7 separate regions of the Homo sapiens genome follow, and regions 1, 3, 4, 5, 6 and 7 are each linked to region 2. Evidence: promoter capture Hi-C in 16 types of primary human blood cells and fetal thymus (Javierre and others, 2016). All regions are on one chromosome and are shown on one strand. The core of a region is centred on a gene start or on the middle of the fragment in contact, and the rest is flanking DNA. Distances in the headings are between cores, read along the strand shown.

What was found. The method cuts DNA at HindIII sites, captures the fragments that hold promoters and counts their contacts. A CHiCAGO score of 5 or more calls a contact.
Region 1: a fragment that was not itself captured here is called in contact with the fragment with the promoter of CD93 in region 2 in 1 of 17 cell types (monocytes); the score reaches 9.6 in monocytes.
Region 3: a contact is called between a fragment that was not itself captured here and the fragment with the promoter of CD93 in region 2, in 1 of 17 cell types (neutrophils). The highest score is 7.9, in neutrophils.
Region 4: a contact is called between a fragment that was not itself captured here and the fragment with the promoter of CD93 in region 2, in 6 of 17 cell types (neutrophils, monocytes, M0 macrophages and 3 more). The highest score is 20.8, in neutrophils.
Region 5: a fragment that was not itself captured here is called in contact with the fragment with the promoter of CD93 in region 2 in 6 of 17 cell types (monocytes, endothelial precursors, M1 macrophages and 3 more); the score reaches 20.2 in monocytes.
Region 6: a contact is called between a fragment that was not itself captured here and the fragment with the promoter of CD93 in region 2, in 1 of 17 cell types (neutrophils). The highest score is 6.7, in neutrophils.
Region 7: a contact is called between a fragment that was not itself captured here and the fragment with the promoter of CD93 in region 2, in 2 of 17 cell types (neutrophils and monocytes). The highest score is 7.5, in neutrophils.

What each region holds. Positions count from the first base shown.
Region 1 is chr20:23,275,180-23,277,879 of GRCh38, reverse strand. No RefSeq gene overlaps it. Among named protein-coding and RNA genes, the nearest start is that of NXT1, 74 kb to the left of the region's middle. The HindIII fragment of the contact is 502 bases long and covers 1,054-1,555 here.
Region 2 is chr20:23,084,877-23,087,576 of GRCh38, reverse strand. CD93 (CD93 molecule) reads left to right here and starts at 1,253. Exons shown (of 2, transcript NM_012072.4): 1 at 1,253-2,700. The coding sequence starts at 1,385. RefSeq lists an enhancer at 1,090-1,269. The HindIII fragment of the contact is 6,182 bases long and covers 1-2,700 here.
Region 3 is chr20:22,948,564-22,951,263 of GRCh38, reverse strand. All of the region lies in intron 1 of LOC107985449 (a long non-coding RNA gene), which reads right to left. Among named protein-coding and RNA genes, the nearest start is that of SSTR4, 85 kb to the left of the region's middle. The HindIII fragment of the contact is 6,397 bases long and covers 1-2,700 here.
Region 4 is chr20:23,240,024-23,242,723 of GRCh38, reverse strand. No RefSeq gene overlaps it. Among named protein-coding and RNA genes, the nearest start is that of LINC03125, 93 kb to the right of the region's middle. The HindIII fragment of the contact is 8,047 bases long and covers 1-2,700 here.
Region 5 is chr20:23,257,218-23,259,917 of GRCh38, reverse strand. No RefSeq gene overlaps it. Among named protein-coding and RNA genes, the nearest start is that of NXT1, 92 kb to the left of the region's middle. The HindIII fragment of the contact is 584 bases long and covers 1,067-1,650 here.
Region 6 is chr20:22,898,800-22,901,499 of GRCh38, reverse strand. No RefSeq gene overlaps it. Among named protein-coding and RNA genes, the nearest start is that of SSTR4, 140 kb to the left of the region's middle. The HindIII fragment of the contact is 328 bases long and covers 1,284-1,611 here.
Region 7 is chr20:22,924,066-22,926,765 of GRCh38, reverse strand. All of the region lies in intron 1 of LOC107985449 (a long non-coding RNA gene), which reads right to left. Among named protein-coding and RNA genes, the nearest start is that of SSTR4, 110 kb to the left of the region's middle. The HindIII fragment of the contact is 9,183 bases long and covers 1-2,700 here.

The sequences.
Region 1 (2,700 bases), core at 55-2,554, 190 kb before region 2:
AAAGGTGAATGAATGTTGTTTGTACTATTCTTGCAATTTACTCTAAGTTTAATATTATTACCAAAATTAAAAAAAACCCACTATGATACAAGATTAAAACACAAAAACAAAAAAACAAATTTGGAGTCAATCCTTCCAAACCCTGTCACTGCTTTATCAACTAAGTTCATGTAATATTCTAAATGCTTTGCTGTCATTTCAACAATCTTCAATGGCATCTTCACCAGGAATACATTTCATCTCAAGAAACTATTTTTTTTTTTTGCTCATTCATAAGAAGCAACTCTGTAGCTGTTTAAATTTTATCATGAGATTGCAGCAATTCAGTTACGTCTTCAGGCTCGGCTTCTAATTCTAGCTTGTTGTTGTTGCTGTTATTTCCACACATCTGCAGTTACTTCCTCCACTGAAGTCCTGCATCCCTCAAAGTCATACATGAGGCTTGGAATCAACTTTCAACCTCCTGTGAATGTTGATATTCTGAACTTCTTCCATGAATCTCCCTTGATAACTTGCTGCATGAATGTTCTTAATGGCATCTAGAATAATGAATCCTTTACAGGTTTTCAATTTACTTTGCCCAGTTCCATAAGACCAACACTATCTATGGCAGATATAGCCTTGTAAAATGTAGTTCCTAAATATTAAGACTTGAAAGTTGAAATTACTTCTTGATCCATGGGCTGAAGAACAGATATTGTGTTAGGAGGTGTGAAAACAACATTAATCTTGAACATCTCTATTAGAGCTTTTGGATGACCAGCTGCATTGTCAATGAACAGTAATATTTTGAAATAAATCTTGTGTGTGTGTGTGTGTGTGTGTGTGTGCAGTATTTCTCAACAGTGGGCTTCAAATATTCAGGAAACCATGCTGTAAACAGATGAGCTGTTACCTAGGCTTTGTTGTTCCAATTATAGAGCACAGGCAGAGTAGATTTAGCATAATTCTTAAGGGCCCTAGGACTTTGGGAATGGAAGATGAGCATTGGCTTTAATTTAAAGTCACCAGCTGCATTAGCCCCTAAAAAAAGTCAGCTTGTCCTTTGAAGCTTTGAAGCCAGGCATTGACTTCTCCTCTCTAGCTATGAAAGTTCTAGCTGGCATCTTCTTGCGATAGAAGGCTGTTTCATCTATGAAAATCTGTTTAGTTTAGCCACCTTCATTAATTATCTTAGCTAGATCTTGATAACTTGCTGCAGTTTCTTGTGCTTTTACATTATGGCTTTTACAGGTGGCTTCTTTCCTTAAACTTCATAAACCAATCTCTGCTAGCTTCAAACTTTTCTTCTTCAGCTGCCTTACCTCTCTCAACCTTCACTGAATTAGAGCAGAGGGCCTTGCTCTGGATTAGGCTTTGGCTTAAGGGAATGTTGTGGCTAGTTGGATCTTCTAACTCCACCACTAAAACTTTCTCAAATTCAGCAGTAAGGATGTTTCACTTTCTTATTATTCATGTGTTCACTGGAGTAGCACTTTTAATTTTCTTCAAGAACCTTTCCTTTGCATTCACAACTCGAATAACTGTTTGGCACAAGAAGCCTATCTTCTAAGCTTAATGGTTTCTAGCTTTTGATTTAAAGTGAGAAATGTGTGACTCTTCCTTTCACTTGAACACTTAGAGGTTCACCGTAGGATTACTAGTTGTCTTAATTTTAATAGTGTTATGCTTCAGGGAATAGAGAGGCCCAAGGTGAGACAGAGAGATGCGGGAACAGCTGGATGATGGAACAAACATACACAATATTTATTGATTAAATTTACTGTCTTATATGGGTGCAGTTTGTGGTGCCCCAAAACAATTACAATAGTAATATCAAAGATCACTGACCACAGACAACTGTAACAGATATAATAATGACAAAAAAGCTTTAAATATTACAAGAATTACCAAAATGTAACATCGAGACATGAAGTGAACACATGCTGTTGGAAAAATGGCGCCCATAGACTTGCTCAACACAGGGTTGCCATAACACTTCAGTTTGTACAGAATGCAATGCCTGCAAAGCATAATAAAGCAAGAACAATAAAATTAGATATGCCTGTACATCCTACAGGTTCTGTCTCTCTGGAGACCCCGACTAATCCACTTTCTAAGACTCACTGGATGGTTGGATGGAATACATAACCAGCTGAGCACTACTTTAAACTTGTGAAACTTTATATAAGCACCTAAATAAATCAGCAGGTATTACTGATGTTTCCAGTGGGAACTCGAGAAAATCAGGACAACAGCAGAGTTGGCCTGGTGAGTTTTCTCTCTCTCAACCTCCCAAGTCCTCTCAATGAGCAAGTTGTTCTTTGTCCCATAGACACACCCCAGCTATGTCTACTCATTCTCCTCCTTGAGATATTTCTCTGTGTTCTAAGGTTTTTGTTCCTCATATTTCTAATATTCTTCCTTTCCCTTCAAAACCTCCTCTTTCCCATTCATCAGGAATTTGTTTAGAAAATGAAGTGCTGTCATGAATTAAATTATCCAAAGGCACAATGGGCCATGTGGAAAGAGCCGCAGAGACCCACATTCTCACTTCAGCTCTTCCATTCGCTGGTTATGTGACCCTGGTAAGAAATTTAACCTGCTAAGCCTCAGCCTCCTAGTCTGTAAAGAGGGGATGATAGTGGTTAATTCCGTGTATGTGTTGATTAAGTACCTGGCCCGTGGCTGGAAAGCAGAGTGAATTCCACTCTCCCTTCC
Region 2 (2,700 bases), core at 4-2,503:
CACAAGGGTGTCTGTCCATAGAAACAAGTTTTATGTGAGAGAGACCCCTGGTCACTGGGCAGGGCTAGAATTTATAGTCAGTCTCTCAAAGTGAGAGATACAGCCTGCTACCAATGACAGGGGACTTGGAGAGCAGTGGAGCCTCTCCCTCAGCTGAGATGGTGCTGAGGTGTGGTCCCCTCAGGCCCCCAGAGTTTCCTGGCACTGGCTCCAGCAGCCCAGGGTCACCTTCTCAGCAAGTCATCATGGGTTGGCTTCCTCCTTGTCTGTTTCACTTCCCCTCCCACATAAACTAGTCTCCCCAAATCCTGTCTCAGGGTCCCCTCCTGGGGGATCCCAACCAATGAGCAAAGGTCTGTGGCTGCAGGAAAAGCACACTGTGAGTCCCTGGCTTTTGCCGAGTCGCGGTGTCGCGGGAGGGCCTGCCCGGGCTTCGATTCCCGCTCCCTGCCCAGATTTCCGGCCCTTGCTAGGAATCCTGAGCCGGGGGAAGTGAGCCTGCAAGCCCTGCGCCACGAGGCCGGACACATTTTCATTTTCTTTCTGATGCTTTTTGTGACCCTGACACCTCACAATGCAATATTTCCACTATGAAACCCCCAGAACTGCCAAATTTCACCCAATTTGGATTAACATTATCGAGGAGCTTGGCATTATGTTGAAAACCCAGACATTCCCACGACCCGTATCCTATTTAAAAAATGCCTGTCTATTTAAGGTTCACGATGGGAGGATAAAAGAAAAAAGGCTCCCAAAGTCAACAGAGAACATGAGCTAGGCAAAAGGAAAGTCCAGTTTGCTTCTAAAAAAGGCTGAAAATTATAACCATCCATGGCCTTGTGTCTTAAGTCTCAGAATTTTTTTTTTCTCTTTTGGTGGTTTGCAAACCAAAGTGGAATTTTATTATGGGTTACTAAGGGAGCTTCCTCGAGTTCCTAGCCCCCAAAGCCCCTGCTCACTCCATGGCATGCCTCCGAGGCTCCTCATGCCATGAGAAAGAGAATGGAGCCAAAATCAAGCCGGCAGTATCTCGGGGCTGTAACGTCTTCCCCCCGTCGCTGTTTCCACAGTGCTGAGCCAGGGACCCGGCAGAGCTGCCTGACTCCTTTTATGAACAACAGCACCGTGATGAAGGCAGCAGGAGTCAGAGAACTATTCATTGCAGGAAGCCCCAACATCCGGTGAGAAATAAGAAGTACAACAGTACAGGATGCGCCTTGGGTCAGGGGGACGTGGAAAGCCCTCAGCCTTTGTGTCCTTCTCTGCGCCGGAGTGGCTGCAGCTCACCCCTCAGCTCCCCTTGGGGCCCAGCTGGGAGCCGAGATAGAAGCTCCTGTCGCCGCTGGGCTTCTCGCCTCCCGCAGAGGGCCACACAGAGACCGGGATGGCCACCTCCATGGGCCTGCTGCTGCTGCTGCTGCTGCTCCTGACCCAGCCCGGGGCGGGGACGGGAGCTGACACGGAGGCGGTGGTCTGCGTGGGGACCGCCTGCTACACGGCCCACTCGGGCAAGCTGAGCGCTGCCGAGGCCCAGAACCACTGCAACCAGAACGGGGGCAACCTGGCCACTGTGAAGAGCAAGGAGGAGGCCCAGCACGTCCAGCGAGTACTGGCCCAGCTCCTGAGGCGGGAGGCAGCCCTGACGGCGAGGATGAGCAAGTTCTGGATTGGGCTCCAGCGAGAGAAGGGCAAGTGCCTGGACCCTAGTCTGCCGCTGAAGGGCTTCAGCTGGGTGGGCGGGGGGGAGGACACGCCTTACTCTAACTGGCACAAGGAGCTCCGGAACTCGTGCATCTCCAAGCGCTGTGTGTCTCTGCTGCTGGACCTGTCCCAGCCGCTCCTTCCCAGCCGCCTCCCCAAGTGGTCTGAGGGCCCCTGTGGGAGCCCAGGCTCCCCCGGAAGTAACATTGAGGGCTTCGTGTGCAAGTTCAGCTTCAAAGGCATGTGCCGGCCTCTGGCCCTGGGGGGCCCAGGTCAGGTGACCTACACCACCCCCTTCCAGACCACCAGTTCCTCCTTGGAGGCTGTGCCCTTTGCCTCTGCGGCCAATGTAGCCTGTGGGGAAGGTGACAAGGACGAGACTCAGAGTCATTATTTCCTGTGCAAGGAGAAGGCCCCCGATGTGTTCGACTGGGGCAGCTCGGGCCCCCTCTGTGTCAGCCCCAAGTATGGCTGCAACTTCAACAATGGGGGCTGCCACCAGGACTGCTTTGAAGGGGGGGATGGCTCCTTCCTCTGCGGCTGCCGACCAGGATTCCGGCTGCTGGATGACCTGGTGACCTGTGCCTCTCGAAACCCTTGCAGCTCCAGCCCATGTCGTGGGGGGGCCACGTGCGTCCTGGGACCCCATGGGAAAAACTACACGTGCCGCTGCCCCCAAGGGTACCAGCTGGACTCGAGTCAGCTGGACTGTGTGGACGTGGATGAATGCCAGGACTCCCCCTGTGCCCAGGAGTGTGTCAACACCCCTGGGGGCTTCCGCTGCGAATGCTGGGTTGGCTATGAGCCGGGCGGTCCTGGAGAGGGGGCCTGTCAGGATGTGGATGAGTGTGCTCTGGGTCGCTCGCCTTGCGCCCAGGGCTGCACCAACACAGATGGCTCATTTCACTGCTCCTGTGAGGAGGGCTACGTCCTGGCCGGGGAGGACGGGACTCAGTGCCAGGACGTGGATGAGTGTGTGGGCCCGGGGGGCCCCCTCTG
Region 3 (2,700 bases), core at 198-2,697, 140 kb after region 2:
CGGTGTGCTTTTCTTTATGGGAGAAGAGTTCTAGATTATCGTGCTGTCCAGTACTGTAGATACTAGCCACATGTGGCTATTGATATTTTTAAAACTTATAATTCAATACAATACAATACATTTTAAAAAATAATTCAATACAATTCAATACAATACAATCAGAAATCAAGTTTTTTTAAAAAAATTCTTCATGAATTGATTTTGTGAAGTTATACTTTGTCTAGAATTTTGTCCATTCTGTGCACATTTCCAAATGAAAAACTGAGTTTTTCAATGGCACTAGTCAGTTTCTCTGTAGCTACACACGGCTGGGGGCTACTGTATTGGGTAGTGTAGATGTGAAAGAGTTGCATATTAGCACAGAAAGGTCTTTTGGACAATCCTGAACGCTAAGTATTTCAATCACTTTGTCCTCATGGACTTGGATATATTTATTTTATTAAGCTGAGTGTTTTCATGCATCTGTTATTTTTAACTTCTCTTCCTCCCACCCTTACGTCACTCAACATTGGATGATTCTTGGAGTTTTGAGTTGTCTTTTTCAGCCTTATGTCATAATTGCTAAATTTAATCCATTGAATAGGGACAGAAAGGTGATGGGATGAACTCACACTTGTGCTTCAGCTGAGATGGTACAGGGACCTCATTCCTGCACGACAAAAGAGAACACTGAGGTTCTAGCTTCTCCTCGACTTCCATTTCTCTTGACAGAGAACCCCTGTGTGGGGCCACGTAGAGTCCTGGGAGATGTAGCTTAAAGCCCTCAAGGGGGTGTGGTTGGGGAAATACTCTCTCTAAGCACTTCTACCATTGCTAGGTGCCTCCTCGGTTGCAAGAATTGAAGAAAGCTCTACTTCCCAGATGCAAGACCATGCCGCGAGGCTTATCCAGTACTCCAGTTTCAGACATGAGAGCAAATCTACCCAGGACTAGAAGCCATCATCCTGAGGTCACATCTCTGCCTCCTCACCCTCTCTGATGTGAAATTAAACTTAACTATTGTCCAGATCCCAGTTCAAGTTTCTTTTATCGCAGAACCTTAGTTTTCTATCTCCTCGGGGGAGATGATAATACTTACAAGGAGACAGTGGGAATTGTTATCTGAGGATGTTTGTAGCATTACCAAGGCAGAATCCAGCTGAGAATGGACACTCAGCACAGAGCTTTTTCTTCCTGAGTCAAAGGCTGTCTCTGACGCCAGGGTCTCAGATGTTCACACTGTGGGTGGTGGTGGCCTTTTCATGTGGTTATTCTTCTTAGTGCTTGGGTTATGAGCTCCTTAAGAAAGGAGGTGCCTCTCATATATTCCACTGGGTCATATATTTAGAACATGGCCTTTAGGCAAATATTTACTGTTAGACAGATTATTGCCTTGCTAATTTCTGGCATCAACTGTGTCTTTGTTGAGAAGGAAGGCTGACTCATAGTCTCAAGACCATGGGGAGACAATGTATTTAACTAATATTTAATTTATATTTGTTGCACAACTATATGGTCAAGAAATACAGTGGGAGAAAGAGAAATATAGTTTCATCCCTACCCATGGTAACAATCAACTCGTGGCATGAGAACAGTCTTTAATTTTGGTTCTTTGAGAATGACAAATGGTCAGATTTCACAGAACCCTTTCATGGGATGAAGAACTCAGAGAGGGCCTGGGCCCACAAGGGGCTGTCTGGGGTCTGTTCCCAGACTGTGGTTTGACTGGGCGTTGTCTGTGGGGTTTTTAGTGATTGTGCCATTGGTGGCCTTGGCTCCAAGTTGCAGTTGTTAAAAGGGCTATTTCATTACATTTTGTTTTCCTTATAGCATAGAGGGTGGGGAGAATGCCGGACTAGGAGTCACGATGACTCTGCTGCAGCCCTAATCTACCATTTAGATGTCAGATCCTGGCCAGTCATGCATTGCTTGGGCTGCCATGTCTTTATTCAAGACATGGGAACACCAGCCCTCTCTATTCTTATCCAGGAAAGGAATCACATTGGGAAATGGATATGATGAGTATGCAGATGCTACATAAATGTACACATATTTTTTTTCCTTTGGGCAAGTAATATAATTTTTTTCCACTTCTATGTGCAAAATGAAAATGATGATATTTACTTAGCCCAAAATACCTACTTTTAAGAATATAGGTAACATTTTTAGGAAAAAAGGAAAGAAAACAAACTTGATGTCAGTGGGTATGGGGTGGAGTCAGGTTTCTAACCCAGATATGGCCAACACTATAATTCCAATCTCTACAAACAGGGGCACCAACACTTCCCATTCTCTGTCTTTTGCAGGCAGAATAGTGGCGATTGAAGAATGGACCAAGAGCTCTGATCACTGAATAAGAAAAGTGTGTGTGTGTGTGCGTGTAGGGATTCTAAGTAATACTATTTCTGACTCAGAATTATTTAGCATCTTGAAAAAGTTTAGGATTTGTTTTAGTAGAGCTTATTTTTCAAGATTCTTCAGCTGTTAACTAACATTAACTATCTAATGCCTACAAAGTACCTTCCTCATCATAATAATTTGTGTGCTTTTTCTAAAAAAAATTGTCTGGCTAGCCAATAAAAAATTGGTTCAAATTTGCATCAAATATATGTAAATCAAAGCAGGAAGGAGTTTGAGCAGTAAGATTGGTAAAGGTCAGAAAGATTAATAAAATCTGCAACTGGTGTTGGTGTGTTGAAATAGGTACCCCTGATGGGGTCG
Region 4 (2,700 bases), core at 165-2,664, 150 kb before region 2:
GTTTTGGCTCCAATAATTCTTTGGGTATTTAGGTCATGGCTTGGCAAATTATGATCCTTGGGACAAATCTGGCTAGCCACCTGTTTTTGCATGACCCATGGATTTTACATTTTTAGGCGGCTGGGAAGACTAATATTGCAAAACACCCCAAAATTATATGAAATTCAAAGTTCAGTGTGTATAATAAAGTTTTACTGGAACACAGTGACACAATTTGTTTATATATTGCCTATGGCTACTTTGAAGCTACAGCAGCAAGTTAACCAGTTGCAGCAGAGACTGGGTGGCCCCCACAGCCTGAAATGTTTGCTGTCTGCTCTTCACACAAGAAGTTTGCTCACCTGGTTCAGACTGTGAACTACCCTGCAAAGATATTAGGTCAAGCCCAAGGGTCAAGAAGGGTGCAGGCTGGCCCCTGTGTCTATTTCACTATCAGGGCCCTTCTGTGATTCCTCAGACATTTCCGTCCACAACCAGATGTAGGAAAATGTATGGACACTGGGGAGGGAGGGTGCTGAAGAGGAGAGGCTGGGGAGAGAGCACGTGTGTGTGTGAGTAGGCACCACAGAATGATGCTGGCAAATCCTAGGGCTGGTGGCCTGATGGGAACCAAGGCTCCTCTCTGCCCTCTCCAGCCAGGTGCAAATGTTTACCCGGTGGCTCCTAAGGAATGATGGGGACAAAACTTAAGTCATTGAGCTTTTTCTGACAAGCATAATGCCACATACATCTTGAATTCATCACGATTTTATTTTTAGATGTTTTCCTCACTACTTTCACTAAAGCCTCAGAGTCAAGAAAAATTCCAGGGGTCCTTTGCTGGTTGGTGAATTGAGGAGTGTCCCTGCAGTGGCATGGTGCCTGGTGATATGAGCCGGGTGGCAAGGGCAGTGAAAGTGTGACAGTTCTCCCCCAGCTCTGCTGAGGGCAGCATCCCAGAACTGGCCAGGCAGGGGGCCCAGGTTGCCTGGGCTCTGCCTCTCCTCTTCCTCCCTCAGACCTTCTGCTTCCCTTAGATGTCCTGTCAGCCTACTGTCCTGCCAGTCCTCTGAGCAGTGCCTCATGGACCCCACTTCTATCATCCACTTCCTCCCACCAGTGGATCCATCTGGTTGATGGAAAGAACCAGTGCAGGGACCTCACGTACATGAGTGAGCAAGTGCTGTAAACCCTTCAATAATTTGTACTTCAAAAGATGCTTGTTGGCCGGACATGGTGGCTCAAGTCTATAATCCCAGCATTTTGAGAGCCCGAGGCAGGCAGATCACTTGAGCCCAGGAATTCAAGACCAGCCTGAGCAAATGGCTGGTCTCTACAAAAAAACTCTACAAAAACATCTCTACAAAAAATTAAAAAATTAGCCAGCCATGATGGTTCATGTCTATAGTCCCAGCTACTCAGGAGGCTGAGGTGGGGGGATCTCTCAAGCCCAGGAGGTGGATGTTGCAGTGAACTGAGATAGCGCCACTGCACTCCAGCCTGAGTGACACAGGGAAGCCCCCCCAGCAAAGAAAAATATAAGATGTGTTGTTTTCCTAAAGGATTTTTTAAAGGCAAAAGCAAAGTCAATGCTCACTTCTATTGATTGATTGAAGTACAGTTGATCCTTGAACAACATGGGTCCATTTTAGACATTTTAAACTGTACAGTTCAGTGGCATTAAGTACGTTCGAACTATCACCACCATCCACTTCCAGAACCTTCTTTCTTTCCAAACTGAAACTCTACACCCATCAAACAACAACTCTCTATTCCCCTTTCCCCAAACACCAATTGTTTTTTAAGATTTATTCTTGTTGACAATGCATGAATAGCATGTTTATTTTAATCAATGTGTAGCATTCCAGTATATGAATATGTCATACTTTATCTATTTTGCTATTGGTGGATATTTAGGTCATTTCAGTTTTTACTTGTTGCAAATGGTGCTTTAAAAAAAACCACACCATGTATATTTCCTATTGTGCATGCATTTCAGAGATTGATACCTAGATTTTCTACAATAAAGTTTGCTGAGTCATGGGACAAGCTCAATTTTTAATATTATCTGATATTACCAGCTAGCTCTTCAAAGATGTCTCATCAGCAGTGTATACGAATTCACAATTTCCTAGCACACTTTCAACACTTGTTAGTGTAGGATTTGTTAGATTTTTCTTTCTTAAGAATTGAACATTTGGCAGGGTGTGGTGGCTCACACCTATAATCCCAACCTTTGGGAGGCCAAGGCAGGTGGATGAGCTGAGGTCAGGAGTTCAAGACCAGCTTGGCCAACATGGTGAAACCCCATCTCTATAAAAATACAAAAATTAGCTGGGCATGATGGCAGGTGCCTGTAATCCCAGCTCTTGGGGCAGCTGAGGTGGGAGAATCACTTGAACCTGGGAGGAGGAGGTTGCAGTGAGTTGAGATCATGCCATTGCACTCCAGCCTGGGTGACAAAGTGAGACTCTGTCTCAAAAAAAAAAAAAAAAGAATTGAACATATGATATTGTTATAGTGGATAGCTAGTCAAACACAAACAGGGCAGGAGAGGACGTCCACTTCCCCACCAGGAATGCCAGGTGACCATCAGGTGATGGTCAGGTGGTTGTAACACTCCCTCTCTAAAATAATAATTGGTCGCATCCAGTGCTAGGGAAAGGCAGTTTCCCAATAGATAAAAACACCTGTAACTGGTGATTGGCAGCCTCCTAATAA
Region 5 (2,700 bases), core at 109-2,608, 170 kb before region 2:
ATTCTCAAACTCTCCTCCAGTTACTTAAGATATCCACACCAGATACTCTTAATTTCTTTTTCTTGAAGAAGTCTCTCCTAGAGCCCCTGACTCCTCCAGTCTGGACTGAGGTCTAGATCTGGTGCATCACTGCCATCCTGGCATCTTCACTTGGAGTTCCTCCAGAGAGTCTCCTCTCCTCTCCTGTGCTGGATTTTCTGCTTCTTGGATTCTGTCTCACCACATTCTTTGATTCATTCTCTTAATTTGATGGAGTACAAACTCCAGTAGCTTCTTCAGAGAGAGAAGTGAAGGAACATTTCTGAGATCTCACATATTTGAAAATGTCTACAGTCTACCTTCCTACTTAATTGACTGGCTGGTGCTATGATCTGAATGTTGTTTGTCCCCCCAAAATTCTTATGTTGGAACCAAATCCCCAGTGCAATAGTATTAAGAGGTGGGGTTTTTGGGGGGTGATGAGGTCATGAGGGCTCAACCTTCATAAATGGGATTAGTACCCCAGGGAGCTTATCTGTCCCTTCCACCATTTGCATAGACAGGGAGGGGCTGGCTGTCTATGAAGTAGAGACTGAGCACTCGTCAGACACTGAATCTGCTGACACCTTGATCTTGGACTTTACAGCCTCCAGGACTGTGAGAAATTAATTTCAGTTGTTTATAAATTACCCAATCTAAGGCATTATGTTATGGTAGCCTGAATGGAGTAAGACAACCAGGTATAGAATTCTAGGTTGCAAATTATTTACTTTCACAATTGAGAAAGTTTTTGTTTGTTTGTTTGTTTTTTTGTTTTAAGATAGAGTCCCACTCTATCACCCAGGCTGGAGTGCAGTGGAGTGATCTCGGCTCACTGCACTCCAGCCTGGGCAATGGGCTGGGGAGCCTCCACCTCCCTGGTTCAAGCGAGTCTCATGCCTCAGCCTTCTGAGTAGGTGGGATTACAGGCACCTGCCACCACACGCAGCTAAGAGAAAGTCTTATGTCTTTGATTTATGTCTTGTAGCTTCCAGTGTGGCTGCAGAGAAGTCAGATGGCTTGCAACCCTTGATCTTTGGTATAAGCTTTTATGGTTTTGCTCTAGAATGCATAGGGATTTTTGATCTTAGTCTATTTTCTCCCAATGTGCTGGGCTCTTGAAGGGCACTCTCACCCTGGAAATTTTGTCCTGCAGTCATCTTTAGCCAGATTAGCAGGATATATTCCACAATGGTGTGGTTTATGATGCAGCTGGTTGGTTCCCTTGGTCTTGGCAGACAGAGTTTTCCCCTTCCCAGCTATGACTGCCTTGGAGCCTAGAGGAAGTTGAGTCACTTCCTGATACAAATCACAAACTGTGAAAAATGTTATGCTTGCAAGTGAATTTTCCACATATCTGAAGTAATGATGGCATAACAGGAGCTTTAAAAACACCGAGGCTTCATTGACACTAAACTGTAGAGCTTATAAAGTAATATGCAACCCATTGTCAGCTACTGAAAGATGAATGGGCCATTCAGGCTTCCGCTCTGGACTCGCCCAGGTTAATTCCCTCTTGCTCAGCCTAAGTGGCTTAGGAGTGAGCAGGGGGTTATTGGAAAGAGGAGGCTGACTATAAAAAAATCCTAGCAATATTGCATTCTGGGTTTATCAGTCATCAGGCACCAAGCTTTCTCACCAACAACATTTGCACAAATTCAGGCCAACCTCTAATCAATGATGCAATCCTTTCTCCTCTAAAGAAAGCCTTTTGAGTGTTTAATGGCATAATGATGGCTGCTGTTGATAAGGCTCACTCTGGGAGGTATGGCATCGGGCTTTATAAATGCTGCTTTTATGCCTCTGCACTGCGATGCCAGGCAGGGGTGATTATCCTCTCGTGATTTTGAATGAGCTGTGATTGGAACACTGTAGCACACTTGCCCAGGGCAGCAGAGACCAGATTCACATCTAGGTCTTTTTGCTTCAATTCCCCGGCTACTGGGCCACACTTCTCTTGATCCTCAGGTGGAAACATGTATATACTGACAGAGGAGAAAAGGGATGGCAGCCTATGAGGTGACCCTGTGGTGTGAGCATGAAGGCACGCCCTTCTGGGATGGGGGCTGTGTTCCTTTCCAGACAAACCACACAGGATAAAAACTGCTCCTTAGGTAGCACAGGATTATTGAAGGCCCTGAGCCTGGGGCAGAGCCTGGGCTCTGACATTAGCTGTGCCTCCTTGAGAAAGAGCTCTGCGCCTGATATTTTTTATTTGTAGATTGGAAATGAAAGTGCTGGCCTATTTGTGGTCACAGTGCTCTGTGAGGGCTCAGATGAGTAAGGTGTCTGCTAAGCAGTTGTAGAAACCTGGAAGCCCTGAGTGATTTTTTTCACCTGCAACTCCCAACTTCTTCAGTATGCTGGGTGTGGAGCTGAGGAATCGCTGCCCGAATAGACAGGTCTGTGCGCTTAAGTAGCTGGGTGGGTTTCTGCTTACATAGCACTTTTACTGTGGGAGAGAAAAGTGGCCAGCTTCTCTCTGGCCTGGCACTGGTACACTTGCCTTGAGGTGGGGGTGCGTCTCTTGGAACCCGGTGTGGAAGCGGAGCCTCTTCCTCCTGGGTGGGCGTGGGGCCCCTTGGGCTCCAGCCAGGATGGAGGGCAGGGTCTGGGGGAAGTGGGAGGGGCTGGGCTCATCTGCTCCCGGGGGAGGCATCTGTCTCTGTGTCTATTGTGTTT
Region 6 (2,700 bases), core at 198-2,697, 190 kb after region 2:
TTGAAGGTTTTTAACATGACAGGATGCTGAATTTTATTAAAATCTTTTTCTGCATCTATTGAAATGATCAGGTGGTTTTTGTTTTTAGTTCTGTTTATGTGATGAATCACATTTGTTGACTTGCATATGTTGAACCAACCTTGCATTCCATGAATAAAGCCTACTTGATTGTGGGGGTTTAGCTTTTTGATGTGTGCTGGATTCAGTTTACTAATATTTTGTTGAGGATTTTTGCATCTATTTTTATCAGGGATATTGGCCTGAAGTTTTCTTTTTTCATTGTGTCTCTGCCAGGTTTTGATATCAGAATGATACTGGCCCCATAGAATAAGTTAGGGAGTAGTCTCTACTTCTCAATTTTTTTGGAATAGCTTCAATAGAATTGATACCAACTCTTATTTATGCTTCTGGTAGAATTTTGTTATGAATCCATCTGGTCTAGGGATTTTTCTGATTGGTAGGCTTTTTATCACTGATTCAATTTTGGAACTCACTGTTGGTATGTTCATAGTTTTAATGTCTTTCTGATTCAATCTTGGGAGGTTGTATGTTTCTAGGAATTTATCCATTCTGGTGGGTTTTTTAGTTTGTGTGCATAGAAGTGTTCATAATAGTCTCTGATGATTTTCTATTTCCATAGGGTTGGTGGCAATGTCCCCTTTGTCATTTATGATTACTTATTAGAATCTTCTCTTTTTGTTTTTCTTTATTAGTCTAGCTTGCAGTCTATCAATATTATTTACTCTTTTATAGAACCAACTTTTGGTTTTGTTGATCTTTTGTATAGTTTTCACCTCTCAATTTTGTTCAGCTCAGCTCTGATTTTGATTATTTCTTTATTTCTGCTAGGTTTAGGGTTGGTTTACTCTTGTTTCTCTAGTTCCTTTAGGTGTGATTTTAGGTTGTTAATTTGAAATCTTTCTAACTTTTTGATGTGGGCACTTAGCACTATAAACTTTCCTTTTAACATTGCTTTAGTTATGCCTCAGAGATTCTGGCATGTTTTATCATTGTTTTCATTAGTTTCAAATAATTTCATGATTTTGGCCTTAATTTCATTGTTACCCAAAAGTCATTCAGGAACAGGTTGTTTAATTTCCATGTAATTGTATGGTTTTGAGAGATCTTCTTGGTATGGATTTCTGCTTTTATGGTGCTATTGTCTAAAAGTGTGGTTTGTATGAGTTTGGTTTTTTTGAATGTATTGGTGGATCTAGCTATTTAGTAGGTAAGCAAACAACTCACAGGACACTAGCAGTCTGCTTCCTCTGTAAGACCAAGCTTGTGCTCTTGAAGGTATCATCTTGTTTCAACCACACAGTAGCCTGTGAGCTCAATCTGTGCATTGATGTTTCACTAGTGAGGAAGTGGAGGCCTCCAAGTCTCCCTCCCAACCATTAGCACCTAGATTTCTTACCTCCCTGTTTCCTCTGGCCACCAGAGTTTTCTCTGCCCAAGCATGACAGGCAGGAAGTGCTGGAAACAGTGACTCTCCAGAGCTGCCCTCAACTCAGTGGCTAGTGGGGTGGAGGGTAAGGACCCCAGCTCCCTCCCATTTCATGTGGGATGGCTCTGAGGTGTGGTAGCAGATTTCTCCAGCAGAACCAAGCTTCAGCTACCTACCGGTCCCCTGCTTGTTAACAAACACTCCACTAACTGGCTTTCCTACCTGATCTCTCTTCTCCACTTTCCTACCAGTCATCACCTCCCAGATAAGCTACTTATACTGTAATCTGTGTCTCAGGATTGGCTTCTGGGAAAAACAGAAATGAAAATAATGTTCTCTCCCTCTTAGAAAAAGAAAAGACTTGTCCTAACAGACAAAAGTTCCCTTCAGTGGCAGTATGGGGGCTCTAACCAATTGTCCTACCACCTTTCCTGTACAAGGGCCTGGAAGCATAGAGCCCAGCACTTCTGCTTCCTACTACAGCACTTTTCCAAGTCTGCTGTGCTCAAGTCTTTAAACTCATTGCAACTATAAAAGCAGAGGGTGGCTTTTACCTTGGCCTAGAGGAAAATAATGCAGAGTTAGAAACATGCAAGGGAGAGAAGGAAAGAATAGAAATGAATTAGCTTAGAGACCCTGCCATTTCTCTATGCCCATCTCGCTATGCTGTGGATACTAGCATGAACATTTGCTTGGGGGAGGACGGGAGTGGTTGATGGCAAAGATTTTTTTTTAATTTTTATTGAAGCAATTTTTCTTATATGCTCTGGAAAAAAAACAGGTATGACTGTGGCTAATCTGTTATTCTCAGGCATGGTGGATGCCAAGAAGGGACTGTAAATCAAGGGCAGCTATCAAACCCAAAGAACCTAATAATCATGTCCTGGAATATTTCATGTGAATACCCATGTGAAAACTTCTACTCTTTGATTTCAACATCATTAAAGTACTAACTAGGCCTGAAACACCATAATTCAGTTCAGTGGGAAGGAATCAATGTTGACTCAGAAATAACTTAGGAAGAAAAATTCTACAGCATGCAGTAAAGAGATATGCAGGGACTTTGGATTTTCTCTTTTACTTTAAGACAGATCTGGAAAACTCAAGACTGAGGTGAGAACAGAAACACATACCATGGGTGAACTGGAAAAGTGAATGTAAGCCTGTCAGTGTCCCAACTCTTGGGTTGGGAGCTTTTTAAAGACTTTGCTTCAGGAGAGCACTTGCTCTTCTCTCATGCCTGTAGCTGTGGA
Region 7 (2,700 bases), core at 1-2,500, 160 kb after region 2:
GAAATATGTGGAAGGAGACATTTGAAGTAATAGTGTAAGAAAATGCAGTTTGTATGGTTTGCAGGTGATCGAGAGGTGAAAAGTCATCCCTGAGCAGAGCCATAACGTGACTAACAATATCATTCAGAAACAAAGGCAGAGTGAGAAGAGGATAGATTAAAGAAGGGCAAACTTAGACTCAGTGAGACCAGGTATTTGGCTGCTGAGATAATCAGAGAAGAAAAGTTAATGTATCTCAACCAGGATCATGGTGGGAGGCAAGGCAAGGCAAGGAAGGCTTGAAGCTCAGTCTTTAATGACCTTTAAGAGTAGGTGAGCAAGAGGACTTGCTTAGCACCAGTTCAGTGGCCCATCCTACTCATGGCCTCTGTTTTCTAGTCATTATCTGTGCTTTATTGGTCATAGAAAGAGGCAAGAGCCTTACCAATGGAAGGTGTTGAGTCAGGAGAGGAGTCTAGTGTCCTCTGGACCCTGTCCCTCTTTTTTGGGTAGACAATCTGGAACAAAGGAACCACCAATTTTCTGTTTGCCAAACTTCCCATAAAAGTGTGAATGAATCAGATTCATAAGGAGATGATTTCTCTTATTTTGAAATGTGGGTTTAACATTTTTAGAGGAGAAATGGCTTTATAAAATGTGTTTTGCTCAACTGAAAACATTTGAGGAAAAATAGGAAATTAAGGCACTGCCATGGGCTCTTCAACCTTATCTTCTGGTATGTCAGATTTCAAAAGATAACCATCTTCTTTGTCTAGAGATTTTCAGAGTTCAGAGTTGAATCCAACATTGCCTTTCTAGAGGGCATTAGTGAGCCATCAGAATGTCTAGGGATGAAGGCCCTGGAGGCCACTGCCCCCACCCACTCGACACCTCTAGTGACATTTAAGACTGGAGTGGAGAGCAAGTAGTCCCCTGCAAGCTGTAATGGGTCCGCAGTCTTTCTCTCATGCTCTTGAAGTTCGTGATGAGTACTCATTAGTCAGCCTCACGTCAGTGCTGATGTGAGGCTCTGGACTCAATTTCCTGGTCTGAGGTATTCCTCTTGCAGTTGCCTTCTGTTCAGCCAGAAAGGCAGACAAAGATGGCAGCAAGGTGTCTTCAAAACTCTAGAAATTAAGTTATCAAATGAAACATAAACAATTTTTGAATTACAGAATTGAGAAAAAAAAAAAAAAACTAGTGAGCCCTGTCTCTGCGAGAAGGTTGTCATCTTTGGAAACTTTTGAGGTTGAGAACCAGACCCTGAGACATGGCAGGCTATCTGAGGACAGACCAGCATGTGAGACATTGTGGCTGTGAGCAGCTGGCTTTTCTCTGGTGACAGCCTTTGCCCTCCACCCCAGACCTAAATGTCAAGAGGAAGCAGAAGTTTGGGCAGATGATGGAACGTGGTGATGGAAGGCTGCTTTGATTGAGACTTATATAAACTTCACTGTTTCCTGGGAACGAACAGGGGGAAAAGAAAAAAAAAAAAAAACACTGACCAGTCTCACACTTCACTGAGGGGAAAAGAAGCAAATGGCAATAATACAAGTTAAGTAGACACAAAGGAAAAGGAGAGGGGAAGAGAGAGGGAGAGGGTGGAGTTCTATGTGATTCTTGAATGTGCTGGTGTTGGAACAGAGATGGGTGGGGATTCAAGTCCCTCTCCAGTACTCACTGTCAGTGAGGACAAGCAGCTGCCCTCACTGACCACAGACCCTGCATCCATAAAGTGGGGATAACAGAAGATGCTCCTCACCAGACTGTGCAGGAACAGAAGATGTGTCATGTACTTGGCACATGGCTGAATACAGAAAAATCTTTAAAAATTTGGGGGTAGAAATAGAGGGAAAGTTTTGAGAAAATTTTCACCACTTCAGAAACTGGGGAGAGCTAAGACCACAGACAGAAGACAGAACAGTGGAGGACATGGGATTCTTCTTCCGCCTTCTCTCCCAGGGGCAGTGAACGTGCCTATGTCTTGGAAATAGGAGGGGGGTCAAATTTCCTCTCTGTCCTGGGGGACTCTTTTGCAGACTTAGGCAAGTGATTTCATGACATCTCTGGCTCCCACTGCTTGCTGCTTTCCTGCTGGGGCCACAGGTAACTCAAGTTTCTGTGGTGGGCCTGTTGGGTTCTCCTTAGAGTCTGGGTTGCTGGAGCCATGAGCCTAAACTGTATCCTTCCTGGAGATCTCTGCTACCAGTTCATTGCTGAATCATCCTTGTGTTCATGATTCAACACCCTTCAAAGAGGTCATTTCTCCTCATACAGTTTTTGTTGCTGAATTTCCACCTGGACACGGTTTATTATCAACTCTTACCTACGCTCTTTTATCCTCCCTGCTTCCTACCTCCTGCTCCCTTTTATCCTCTTCTTCAACAAGTTTCTCTTTTTGACTATTCCTACTTGACAATTACTATGCAAAGCATTAATTATTAACATTTGACATGTTATACTGAACTGAAATCAGCACCCAAGCTGCCCCAGCCAGCCAACTTTTGGGAGTCAGCTACTCATGAAACAGCTCACTTGCCTGATGAGAGACTCACGGCAGCTGCAGTCTGGGAAGGAGGGCTTGGCACGGCAAGGGTGGGCTGGTAATGTGTTCCAGGGAAACCAGCTGTGTCTCAGACCCTGACCAGCTCCACCACAGAATTACTCCCACTTGTTCACATCAATTAGAAATACTGAATTTCTTAGTGGTGTCTGATATTT